3 separate regions of the Homo sapiens genome follow, and all the other regions are linked to region 1. Evidence: promoter capture Hi-C in human tissues and cell types (Jung and others, 2019). All regions are on one chromosome and are shown on one strand. Each heading gives the region's core, a stretch centred on a gene start or on the middle of the fragment in contact. The rest is flanking DNA. Distances are from core to core; before and after follow the strand shown. Region 1 holds the start of PPP4C (protein phosphatase 4 catalytic subunit). Region 2 holds the start of SNORA30 (small nucleolar RNA, H/ACA box 30). Region 3 has its middle 17 kb from the start of FBRS.

Region 1 (3,813 bases), core at 562-3,061:
GACCTCTACGAGTCATGGCTTCCTATTCGATAAAATGCAGCAAATGATTCCAACCTCATAGGATTGCTGGGGGGAAGAGATGGATAGAAGTTTTTTGCCAGTACCGGGCCAGGCCAAATAGTGGCCCTGTAAAGGCCAATGTTTACTGTTCAATAAACGTAGGGTAATTCTGTGGGCTCTTCTGCCACAATTCTCCAGCCTGGTAGAAGCCACAATCACACAGTTCCCCAGAGGAGGCAGGTAATTAAACCCCTGACTGTTCCCCACGCATCTCAGGGCCTCCACTGTTACATTCGTCCTGCTTGGAATGCCCTTCCCTCACTGGCCCTGCCTCCATCAGCTAGCCAAATTATCTTCATCCTTCAAGGCCTACCTCCACTCAAAAGCCCTCCCTGATGGCTTTAGCCCATCTCATTATTGCCCTCTTCCAAAAGAAATAGAATACCTGGTGATTATCAAGCACGTATGCTGTACCAAAACACTGTGCTAACCTCATCTCCAGCACCAACTCACTGAATCTTCACAATCATCTTATTAAGTACTATTAATTCTGCTTTACAAATAAAGACACTTAAGATTACTAACACAGCTAGAAAGCGGCAGAGTTCAGATTCAAACCTAGAGCCATCTCACACTGCAAAACCTAGAGCCTTAACCACTACATCATCCTACTTCCCACAGAACTCTGAACTGGCCTCCCTATCGTGCTTAATTCTACCCTGGCTTACTTGCTACGATTTCTCAGGCTCCCACCCTGAACGTGAATGATCCAACTCCACCTTTTTGCATTATGGCCTGAAAAAGGACAGGACACTAAGAGCTGGCTTCAGACCCCATTCCTTACTTGTGGGTAACTTTGAACATGAAAGTTCCCACCTGTAAAATGAGTACAATACCACCAATCTTTAAGGGTTGTTGTAATTAGAAGACTTTTATAAATCACAGGGTCTTTAACTTTCCTGTCTTAAACTTTTGGTTTTTGGCTGACTCTTTTACCACCTCCTTATTCGAGGCCTCTCCCACAGTTCGGCCCCCCTCCAACAAGCTTCCGTCCCCCGACAGATGGACTTGTTTCCTTGAGTTTCCTAAGTACTTTATGTAACACTCTTACTCCACTGGAAACACATCGTCTAATAAACTTTAAGTGTCTTTATCCACTCTGTCTTCCCCGAGCAGGCTAGCTTTTCCTCGAGGGCAGCGGCTCCATCCTGCTCCTCTCTGGGAAAGCTTCCAGAACGAGGCAAGCCCAAAGTTCTCAGTTGGGTTTGCCCCAGGCCAGAACCCGTGGGCGGCGGCTTGGCCTCCCTTCCCCAGGGCCAACGAGCTCACCTGGCCTTAGCGCACAGGGCCTTGACTTCGCTCTCCTTGATGAGCTCGCAGCGACGCAGCTGCTCGATCTGCCGGTCCAGGTCGCTGATCTCCGCCATGGCCCACCCCCGGCGCGGGTCAGAGTCGGGGCCGCCGCCCCCTCCGCACCGCACAGGGGTCTCCTGGGAAAGGCCAAGACGAGCCCGCGGATCAGTGTCCGTCCGGGGCTCGGAGCGGACAACTCGATTCTAGAGCCGGCCCGGCTCCCCCACCCCCGCCTCCCCTCACATCGGCCCCAGGACCCCCCGGCGTCCAACGGCCTGGCCGCACCCCCGCTAACTCCCGTCGAACCCCGCGGTCCCGCGCTAAGGACGGTGACTTAGAGGAGTCTCGCACTATTACCGCCGCTGCGACTCCGGTTCCGGCTCTCCGGCTCCCTGCCTCCCTCTTTCACTCCGCTTTCGACCGCCGCCGCCGCCGCCGCCGCCGCTCCTACTTCCGGCCCCGCCGCGGAAGCAAAGGAGGCCAGTTCCGCCGCGCGCCGGATGTGGCGTCATACACGCTCCTCTCCTTTCGCAGCGACCCCTGCACCACTTCTCCAGCCTGAGATCGGGAAGGAGGTGGAGGAACCCGGTGGCGGCCAGTGGCAGTTTTGTGGGCTCTGCCGCTGGGCGATGTGGAGGCTATTAGAAACCCTAGACCAGTCCCCTCCCATATCATTTCATAAAAATGTTTAAACAACTGTCTTTTCTTTTTTTGAGACGGAGTTTTGCTGTTGCCCAGGCCGGGGTGCAATGGCACGAACTCGGCTCACCGCAACTTCCGCCTCCCGGGTTCCAGCAATTCTCCTGCCTCAGCCTCCTGAGTAGCTGGGATTACAGGCATGCGCTACCACGCTGGGCTAATTTTGTATTTTTAATAGAGACGGGGTTTCTCCATGTTGGTCAGGCTGGTCTCTAACTCCCTACCTCAGGTGATCCGCGCCCCCACCCACCACCACCCTTCGGCCTCCCAAAGTGCTGGGATTACAGGCGTGAGCCACCGCGCCCGGCCACAACTTTCTTTTTTCTAAATTAGAGACAGGGTCTCGCTCTATCGCTCAGGCTGGAGTCGGTGGGGCTATCATAGGTCACTGTGACCTCGAACTCCTGGGCACAAGCTATCTTCCCGCCTCGGGCCTCCCAAAGTGCTGGGATTACAGGCGTGAGCCACCGCGCCCGGCCATCCCCCATTTCAGCTAGGGAAACAAGCCGAGCTGGGGCTAGGCTTTGTAACTTTATTACACTTTTTTTTTTTAACATTACACTTTTTTTTTAATGTTACACATTTTTGTTACTTGTTTTGTCAGCCTTCCCCACCACAGTCCTTGGAGGATCCAACTTTGTCTTTTTAAATATTGCAGCCCCAGTGGTTAGAATAAGGCCTGGCACGGTAGGCATATATAGATACTTGTTAATACTTGTTCAATGGATGAGGGAAGCCAAGTTCAGATCTCTTCCTGTGCCGTCAGAGAAATATTTGCCGTGGACAACTTCAGAAGTTAACAGATTGGAGTCCACTTTTCCCACGCCAAGCCTGTGCCTCAGTCAGCATGACTTCTCTGATTCCAAAATGGCACTCTTGACATTTCTTAGTTGCTTCCGTTTTTCTTTTTGAGACAGAGTCTCACTCTCTCGCTCTGTCGCCCAGGCTGCAGTCCAGTGGCGCCATCTCGGCTCACTGCAAGCTCCGCCTCCCGGGTTCACGCCATTCTCTTGCCTCTGCCTCCTGAATAGCTGGGACTACAGGCGCCCGCCACCAGGCCCGGCTAATTTTTTTGTATTTTTTAGTGGAGACGGGGTTTCACCGTGTTAGCCAGGATGGTCTCGATCTCCTGACCTCATGATCCACCTGCCTCAGCCTCCCAAAGTGCTGTACCACAGGCGTGTACCACCGTGCCCGGCCTCTTTTTTTTTTTTTTTTTTTTTTTTTGAGACGGAGTCTTGCTTTTTCACCCCGACTGGAGTGCAGTGGCACAATCTCGGCTCACTGCAACCTCCGCCTCCCAGGTTCAAGCGATTCTCCTGCCTCAGCCTCCCAAGTAGCTGGGATTACAGGCATGTGCCACGACGCCTGGCTAATTTTTGTATTTTCATTTATTTATTTTTTTAAGACAGAGCCTTCCTTGCTCTTGTCGCCCAGGCGGGAGTGCAGTGGAGCGATTTTGGCAAACCGCAACCTCCGCCTCCTGGGTTCAAGCAATTCTCCTGCCTCAGCCACCTGAGTAGCTGGGATTACAAGCACCCGTCACCACGCCCAGCTAATTTTTGCATTTTTAATAGAGACGGGGTTTCACCATTTTGGTCAGGCTGGTCTCGAACTCCTGACCTCAGGTGATCCACTCTCCTCGGCCTCGGAAAGTGCTGGGATTACCAGCTTGAGCCACCGTGCCTGGCTTCTTAGTTGCTTTCTATTAAGTTTTGTGCCTTTTTTAAGAGGAGGAAACTGGCTCAGAGGGGTTAAATA
Region 2 (3,813 bases), core at 952-3,451, 640 kb before region 1:
TCTCCATCTCCACCTGTTGAAGTTGAGGAGTGACTGCCAGCGCTGTGACTTGAAGTTCTTGATGTTCTGCGCCTCATCCAGAATGAGATAGCGCCAGTTCTTGCGACGGAAGGCCTGGTGGTCCTGCAGCACCAGCTTGTAAGATGTGATACACACATGAAAGGCATTGGGCTTGGTCCAGCCCTGAGGGATCAAAGACAGAAAGTAGCAGATAGTGGGATGAAAAGAAGAGAGCAAAGGGAAGACATGCTAAACTCCTCAAAGGACAGTAATCAGGTTGGAAGAAAAGAGAAAGTCCCAGCAAAAGAATGGAGCGACAGAAAGAGGAGGGGCCTGGGTGCGGTGGCTCACAGCTATAGTCTCAGTACTTTGGGAGGTTGAGGTGGGAGGATCTCTTGAGCCCAGGTGTTCAAGGTCAGCTTGGGTAACATAGTGAGACCCCATCTTTATTTTTACAAAAAATTAAAAAATTTTTTTTAAAAAAGAAAGAGGAGAGAAAGGAATTCACCTGAGGAAAGGGCTTAAAAATAAAGGAGGCATCAATGGGAGGAAAGTGACCACATGAAACATCGAACCTGCCGCTTGAGCTTCCTCTCTTTCTGGGCTCCATAGTAAGTGAGGATTTTAAAGCTGGGGCACCACCGTTTCAACTCCATCTCCCAGTTCAACATCACGCTGGTGGGAACAATGATTAAATGGGGACCCCAGTTACCTGTTAGGCAAAAAAATCAGAGATGGTAAGGAAATGTAAATTCTGTGGTTCTGATTTCTCAGTTATAACCCTGGCCACCCTTTGGCCCTTCCTAGGAATCCTAGCACCTACACTGTCCTCTCTATACAGTTAATGACCGGAGTCAATAAAGCAAAAGTCAATGAAGCTGGAGTCATCACTGAACAAGCTCCCAGGGAGCTAGACTAGGGGGAACAAAAGAAGGGGCCTTGCCTACTTACCTTTCTCACAAGCCAAGTGGGCAAGCAGAGAGATGGTCTGGATGGTCTTCCCAAGCCCCATCTCATCAGCAAGAATGCCATTAAGCTTCTTCTCATACATGGTAACCAGCCAGTCTAGCCCAATGTGCTGGTACTCCCGGAGCTGGCCCCGCAGAAGCAGGGGAATGGGCGTCTTTACCTGTCAGAGAGGAAATATAGGTAACACAATGGAAATGAGGCATTTGTTGTGGGGACATGAGAAAGTCAAGACATGAGAAAGGAGAGGCCAGAACCTGGGGATACCTGGGTCGTGGCCAGCGTGTAACCCTTGGGCTGGAGACTTTCAGCTGCTGCAGCAATGTCAGTAATTTCTTTCTTTGGACCTAGAGTAGTGGGCCCTGGAGTAGGAGGCCCACTGCCTGCATCTGCCTCACTCTGCTCTTCATCCCTGGCAAGCAAGTACTCCACCCCAAAATCATCATCTTCCTCCTCTTCATCTGCTTGGCTCTGTGATTGGGCATCCTCAGACTCTTCAGACTCAGATTCCTCTGATGCTGAACTTCCACTTGTTTCTTCCTCCTCTGAATGTTCATCTTCCTCATCCTCACTCCGGTCCTCCACAGAGTCTAAAGGGTAAGACCAAGGCTTACTGCTCATCATACCTGCTCTTCCAATGGCCACCCTCCCCAGCTCCTGCTTCATGACCACATATTCACCTGACTGACTGCTACTATCCTCCTGAGGAGGCTCTTCCGCTTCCACGGGCCCCTCTGGTTCACAGTCAGAGCTATTAGCATCAACCTCATCTTCATCCTCATCTTCACTGCTCCCAGAGCCTGGGGCATAGGCTCCTGCATACTGCTGCAATAGCTCCTCCATGGAAAGCTCACCTGGAAGAGAAACAAAAAGCTTTTGGTTGCTCTGAGGGGAGGGAGAAGGGGAGGTCTGAGTAGTACCAGTTAATTTTACCTAGGTCTCTGTAGATACTGCTAGGCCCAGGTCTGAGGGGAGGCAAAAGAGCTTACTTTCAGCATCAGCTAGCAAAGCCAAGCCCCACAACCTGGGGGAAGTACCATGGGAATTGGGAAGAACATTATCAACCTGGTGAGCCTCTCAAGGTCCAGGTCAAATGCTGTCAGTATCTTCCTACATTAGCTCTTCCCTCCATTTCACTCCCACATCACCATTTAAACTTCTATCATAAGCACTCATCACTTTCTACTTATCATTACTGGTTTACAAGTCTGTCTTAGTCATTAGACATGGAATTCCTCCAGGGTGGATACAAAGTGCCTTATTCATCTCTTTATCCTTGGTACTGCACACCGCAGACACCAAGTGGATGCTTAGTAAAATGTCTGGTAAATGTCACCTTCTCGAGCCAACTCGCTCAGCTCCATGGCATGATCCACCTCCCCTTCCAACTGTTCCTCAGCTGCTATAGTATCCTCTTCATCCTCCGCTAGGAAAGAGACAGAAGCAAGATTAATAGGGATAGAGGCTAGAGGCACAGGACACAGTCCAAATGAAACAGATGAGAAAGCCTGAAAGGTTAGGTCCAGACAATTCATTCAAGGGGTAAGGGGCAATAGGACAAACCGAACAGCCCTGACCTTCCTCTTCGTTGGCAGTAAACTCTTCATCATCTTCATCTGGATGCCAAGGCTGTTTGTTGCGCTGTGTGACAGCAGAGGGTGGGGGCTTTATCTGTATGGCAAAAGATAAAAAAGGGAAGGGTCTAAGGTTACAGTAGCAGAAGAATGGCACAAACTTGAAAAAGGTGTCACAGGAGAATCACTGTCCCATTGAGTGACAGTTGCCACTGGTATAATCCCAGGGCAAGAATACAATCAAGGGTTTTCTCTCAGCACCAGCTACCAAATCCTGGCCCCACTGCCTGGGGAAGGAACTGTGAAAGTGCCAGGTAACAAATAAAGGCACCCAACACTTCCCCATGCACTTGAGACATATGGAGAAACAGAAAAGACTTAAGGGTACCATGCCAGCTTCCAACCTGTAAGCCAATAAGGGAACATTAGGGCATGTTCAGAGAAGTGGCAAGTAACGGTCAGAGGAAGTACTTTTTCAAGACCACACAGCAATTTAAAGAGGAAAGTGCAATACGCTCTTCCACTATAGCGCCAAAACCTGCCAATCACAAAATGCAACTTGCCCCAAACAGATTCTTCCCCAGTCATCCCCAAAGAGCCCAAATGTCCATTACTAGCAGAACTCCTAAAACTCATAACCAACCTCACAGCCCGGAACTCAGACCCTGAACCTCTCCCTCTGTTCCCCCTCTGAACCCTCCCTCTGCTCCTTCTGCCTATACCTCCAACACCTGAGGGGGCTCTTCTTCAGCACCTTCTTCAGGCCCATCTCGGGTGTCACTATCATGAGATGAGGGGGTTTGAGAGGGGCTGGAAGGCCCTTCCAACAGCTGAGGGGGAAGGGAACGGAGCAGCTCTTCCAGTGGCAATTCTCCCTCACGGCGAAGCAGCTCAATCTCACGCCTCTGGGCCTCTGCATCATTGCCTTCCTGTTGTTCTTCAACTTCAATCGTTTCCTCATCATCCTCTTCCTCATCCTCTTGGGGTTGAAAGTCCCCATCTATAGCAGGAGAACAAGGTCACAAAGTCCACGGGCCCTGCAAGCCACAGGGTGGGTTTTTCAGCTCTGGAAAGGGTACATGAGGAAGAGTAACAGGACCAAAGAGAACACACACCTTCATCATCCAGGCGAGAAGCAGGGGGTGGAGGACTGGAGGCAGCTGAGGAAGAGCCGAGGCAAGGGGAAGAGCCTGCTTTGCTGGAGGTTAATGGCTGGTTGAGGCTCTGAGACAGAAGGTCCGAGTACTTTTCAGTTTGCCCCACAATGAAGTCC
Region 3 (3,813 bases), core at 352-2,851, 600 kb before region 1:
TTTTTTGAGAGTTTTGAAAACTCTCAAAAGTCAGGTGAGGAATGACATCACCTGACTTAGGTTTTAAAAGGACCACACAACTGCAAGGTCTGTGAATTGAGATATTACAACTCCCATGTTACTGGGGCATTTCCTATCATTAGACTGTTCTAACTGGAATATTTAAGGGTCTAGCCTGCTTGAAGGAAATCCGATGTGCAAAAATCCAGATAGAACTAACTTTTCCTGAGGGACTGGCAGTCATTGCAAATTGCTCAGTGTAGCAGGGGTAATGTGGTGATCCCAAGCCTCTGGGCCCTGCTTTCTTTCCGTTGGAAGGACTCATCACCCCAAAGCCCATCAGCTGCATCTCCACAGGTGCCTTCTGCTCACACAGGCACACACAACCATACAAAATGGGTGTTTCTGAATGTCTCCATGATTAGATAATGGCAGTGGTTGTACAACCCATCAGCTGCACCTCCAAGAGTGCCTTCTTCTGACACATGCACACATGGCCATAAAAAAATGGGTGTTTCTGAATGGCTCCAGAATTAGATAATGGCAATGGTTGTACGACTTTGTGAATATACGAAAACCACTGCAATGGCACACTTTAAAAGGTACATTTCATGGTATGTGAATTTTATGTCAGCAATAATAATAAAATAATAAAAATACTTCCAGAAATCCTGTTTGTCATAACACAAATGCTAGAAACAACTTAAATGTCTATCCACAGAGATCTGTGTTGTTTTTGTTTTTGTTTTTGAGACGAAGTCTCACTCTGTCGCCCAGGCTAGAGTGCAGTGGTGCGATCTTGGCTCACTGCAACCTCCACCTCCCGTTTTCAAGCAACTCATGCATCAGCCTCCCAAGTAGCTGGGATTACAGTCGTGCACCACTGTGCCCAGCTAATTTTTATATTTTTGTAGAGTCGGGGTTTCGTCATGTTGACCAGACTCGTCTTAAATTCCTGATCTCAGGTGATCCGCCTGCCTCGGCCTCCCAAAGTGCTGGGATTACAGGCGTGAGCCACTGCACCTGGCCATGTGTTTGGTTTTGTTTTTACATAAAGACGGGTCTTGAACTCCTGAGCTCCAGTGATCCTCCTGCCTCAGTTACTGACGTGCTGGGATTAGAGGCAAGAGCCATTGTGCTCAGCTCCCATCTCTACTTTTAAATAACAAACATGTATATGTATAACTTTCCTCTTCCTCTCTCTCTCTCTCTCTCTCTTCTCTCTCTCTCTTTCTTTCTTTCTTGACAAGGTCTTGCTCTGTCTCCCAGGCTGGAGTGCAGTGGTGCCATCATTGCTCACTGTAGCCTCAACCTCCTGGGCTCAAGTGATCCTCTTGCCTCAGTCTCCCAAGTAGCTGGGACTACAGGCGTGCGGCCGACACATCCTAATTTTTGTATTTTTCATAGAGACGGGGTTTTACCATGTTGCTCAGGCTGGTCTCGAACTCCTGGGCTCAAGGGCCTGCCTCGGCCTGAGTGAGGAAGGGACTTCGGGGTTTTACCGTGTTGCCCAGGCTGGTCTCAAGCTCCTGCCTCAGGCAATCCGCCCACCTCGGCCTCCCAAAGTGCTAGGATTACAGGCGTGGGCCACCACACCCAGCCACATATACTAAAACATTATACAGAGGTCAGCATGGCCCCTTAGCAAGGATGACTTGCAAATTCGTGAAGCTTTCCATATTTTTGTGATTATTATACATTGCATGATTGTATCAAAATATCTTGTAACACATAAATATATACGCTTACTATGTACCCAGAAAAATTAAAAATGAATTTTTTTCTTTTTTGAGATGGAGTCTGGCTCTGTCGCTCAGGCTGGAGTGCAATGGAGCGATCCTGGCTCACTGCAACCTCCACCTCCCAGGTTCAAGTGATTGTCCTGCCTCAGCCTCCTGAGTAGCTGGGATTACAGGTGTGTGCCACCACACCTGGCTAATTTTTTTTTTTTTTTTTTGAGATGGAGTCTCTCACTCTCGCCCAGGCTAGAGTGCAGTGGCGCCATCTCGGCTCACTGCAAGCTCCACCTCCCGGGTTCACGCCATTCTCCTGCCTCAGCCTCCCGAGTAGCTGGGACTACAGGCACCCGCCACCATGCCCGGCTAATTTTTTGTATTTTTAGTAGAGACGGGGTTTCACCATGTTAGCCAGGATGGTCTTGATCTCCTGACCTTGTGATCCTCCTGCCTCGGCCTCCCAAAGTGCTGGGATTACAGGCGTGAGCCACCGCGCCTGGCAATTTTTGTATTTTTATAATAGAGACAGGGTTTCACCATGTTGGCCAGGCTGGTCTCGAACTCCTGACCTCAGGTGATCTGCCTACTTCAGCCTCCCAAAGATTACAGGCAGAGACGGCACGCCTGGCCCTTGGAATTCTGTCATTAGCTTCTGTAATTGTCCTCTTTCATAGTCCAATGTAAGCTCCAGGATGGCTGGGGTTTGTTTTGTGTACCTCTGTATCCCCAGCCACTAAGTGCAGTGCCTGGCACTGTGGATGAAGTCAACAGTGGTTGAAAGAATCAAAGGCAGCTCAGAAACTGCATCAAGTGAGGGAAGAGGGAGGTTTCTGACTTGAGTGCTGATGACACAGAGATGGAAACCTTGGGGGAAGTGGGGCATCAGATCTCGAAGATGACTTAATTTGGGATATCTGAGGTGCTTGGGGAGAGATCTAGGAGAGGTGGGATAGGCATGTCTAGAAAATATTTAACTCTACTGGGCACGGTGGCTCACGCCTGTAATCCCGGCATTTTGGGAGGCTGAGGCGGGCGGATCACCTGAGGTCAGGAGTTCGAGACGAGGCTGGCCAACATTTAGTGTGACTCCTGTCTCTACTAAAAATACAAAAAATTAGCCAGGCATGGTGTTGCATGCCTGTAATCCCAGCTACTTGCGAGGCTGAGACAGGAGAATCGCTTGAATCTGGGAGGCGCAGGTTGCAGTGACCTGAGATTGTGCCACTGCACTCCAGCCTGGACAACAGAGCAAGACTCTGTCTAAAAAAAAAAAAAAGAGAGAGAGAAAGAAAGAAAATATTTCACTGAGAGTCACTCTCAAATGCCTATAGGGGCCAGAGAGGTAGCCTGAATAGTGACTGTGGTCTACTCCAAGACAACAAGTGGAGGGGACAGTCGCAATCTGGTGAGATTATGCCCCATTTCAAAGGAAAGCCATGGGGGTAAGCAGGTCTAGTGACCACAGATTTTTGGATTTTTCAAGAGAAGCTGAAAACAAGAACTTCCATGTGAAATCTTGTCTGCAAGCCAACGTTCACCTTCTGGTCACTTGTTTCTGACTTCTGTTGGAGCAATCTAGGCTTGAGCCTTCCCTAGACATCCTGGATATGTGTGGTGGTGGCAGGGAATGTTGGCTGCATCTTTCCTAAGGCAACAGGTACATTTATGGGCCAGGCACAGTGGCTCACGCCTGTAATTCCAGCGCTTTCAGAAGTTGAGGCAGGAGGATTGCTTGGGACCAGGAGTTTGAGACCAGCTTGGACAACAAGACAAGAACCCTGTCTCTACAAAAATTTAAAGCTAGCCAAATGTGGTGGCACAGGCTTGTAGTTCCAGCTACTCGAGAGGCTGAGGCAGGAGGATCACTTGGGAATAGGAGTTCGAGGCTGAAGTGATCTGTGATTGCACCACTGTACTCCAGCCTGGGCAACAGACCGGCTGTTGTTTTGCTCAAAAGCTGCCTCAAAAGCAAAACAAGTCTGGGTGTGGTGGCTCACACCTGTAATCCCTGGACTTTGGGAGGCCAAGGGGGTAGATAGCTTGAGTCCAGGAGTTTGAGACCAGCCTGGGCAACATG

The links. The method cuts DNA at HindIII sites, captures the fragments that hold promoters and counts their contacts. A contact is called where the count stands out against the background at its distance.
Region 2: a fragment that was not itself captured here is called in contact with the fragment with the promoter of PPP4C in region 1 in 2 of the 25 tissues and cell types used here (bladder and spleen).
Region 3: a fragment that was not itself captured here is called in contact with the fragment with the promoter of PPP4C in region 1 in 1 of the 25 tissues and cell types used here (spleen).

What each region holds. Positions count from the first base shown.
Region 1 is chr16:30,073,992-30,077,804 of GRCh38, reverse strand. PPP4C (protein phosphatase 4 catalytic subunit) reads right to left here and starts at 1,811. Exons shown (of 9, transcript NM_002720.3): 1 at 1,711-1,811; 2 at 1,330-1,490. The coding sequence starts at 1,427. RefSeq lists enhancers at 1,198-1,287, 2,910-3,089 and a silencer at 1,398-1,537. The HindIII fragment of the contact is 17,066 bases long and covers 349-3,813 here.
Region 2 is chr16:30,709,578-30,713,390 of GRCh38, reverse strand. It overlaps SRCAP (Snf2 related CREBBP activator protein), which reads right to left. Exons shown (of 34, transcript NM_006662.3): 7 at 3,656-3,813; 8 at 3,263-3,540; 9 at 2,544-2,637; 10 at 2,303-2,392; 11 at 1,647-1,820; 12 at 1,234-1,556; 13 at 952-1,129; 14 at 576-712; 15 at 14-183. SNORA30 (small nucleolar RNA, H/ACA box 30) reads right to left here and starts at 2,854; the gene lies at 2,726-2,854. The HindIII fragment of the contact is 4,122 bases long and covers 141-3,813 here.
Region 3 is chr16:30,673,172-30,676,984 of GRCh38, reverse strand. It overlaps the pseudogene RNU6-416P. Among named protein-coding and RNA genes, the nearest start is that of FBRS, 17 kb to the right of the region's middle. RefSeq lists an enhancer at 1-134. The HindIII fragment of the contact is 5,104 bases long and covers 1-3,813 here.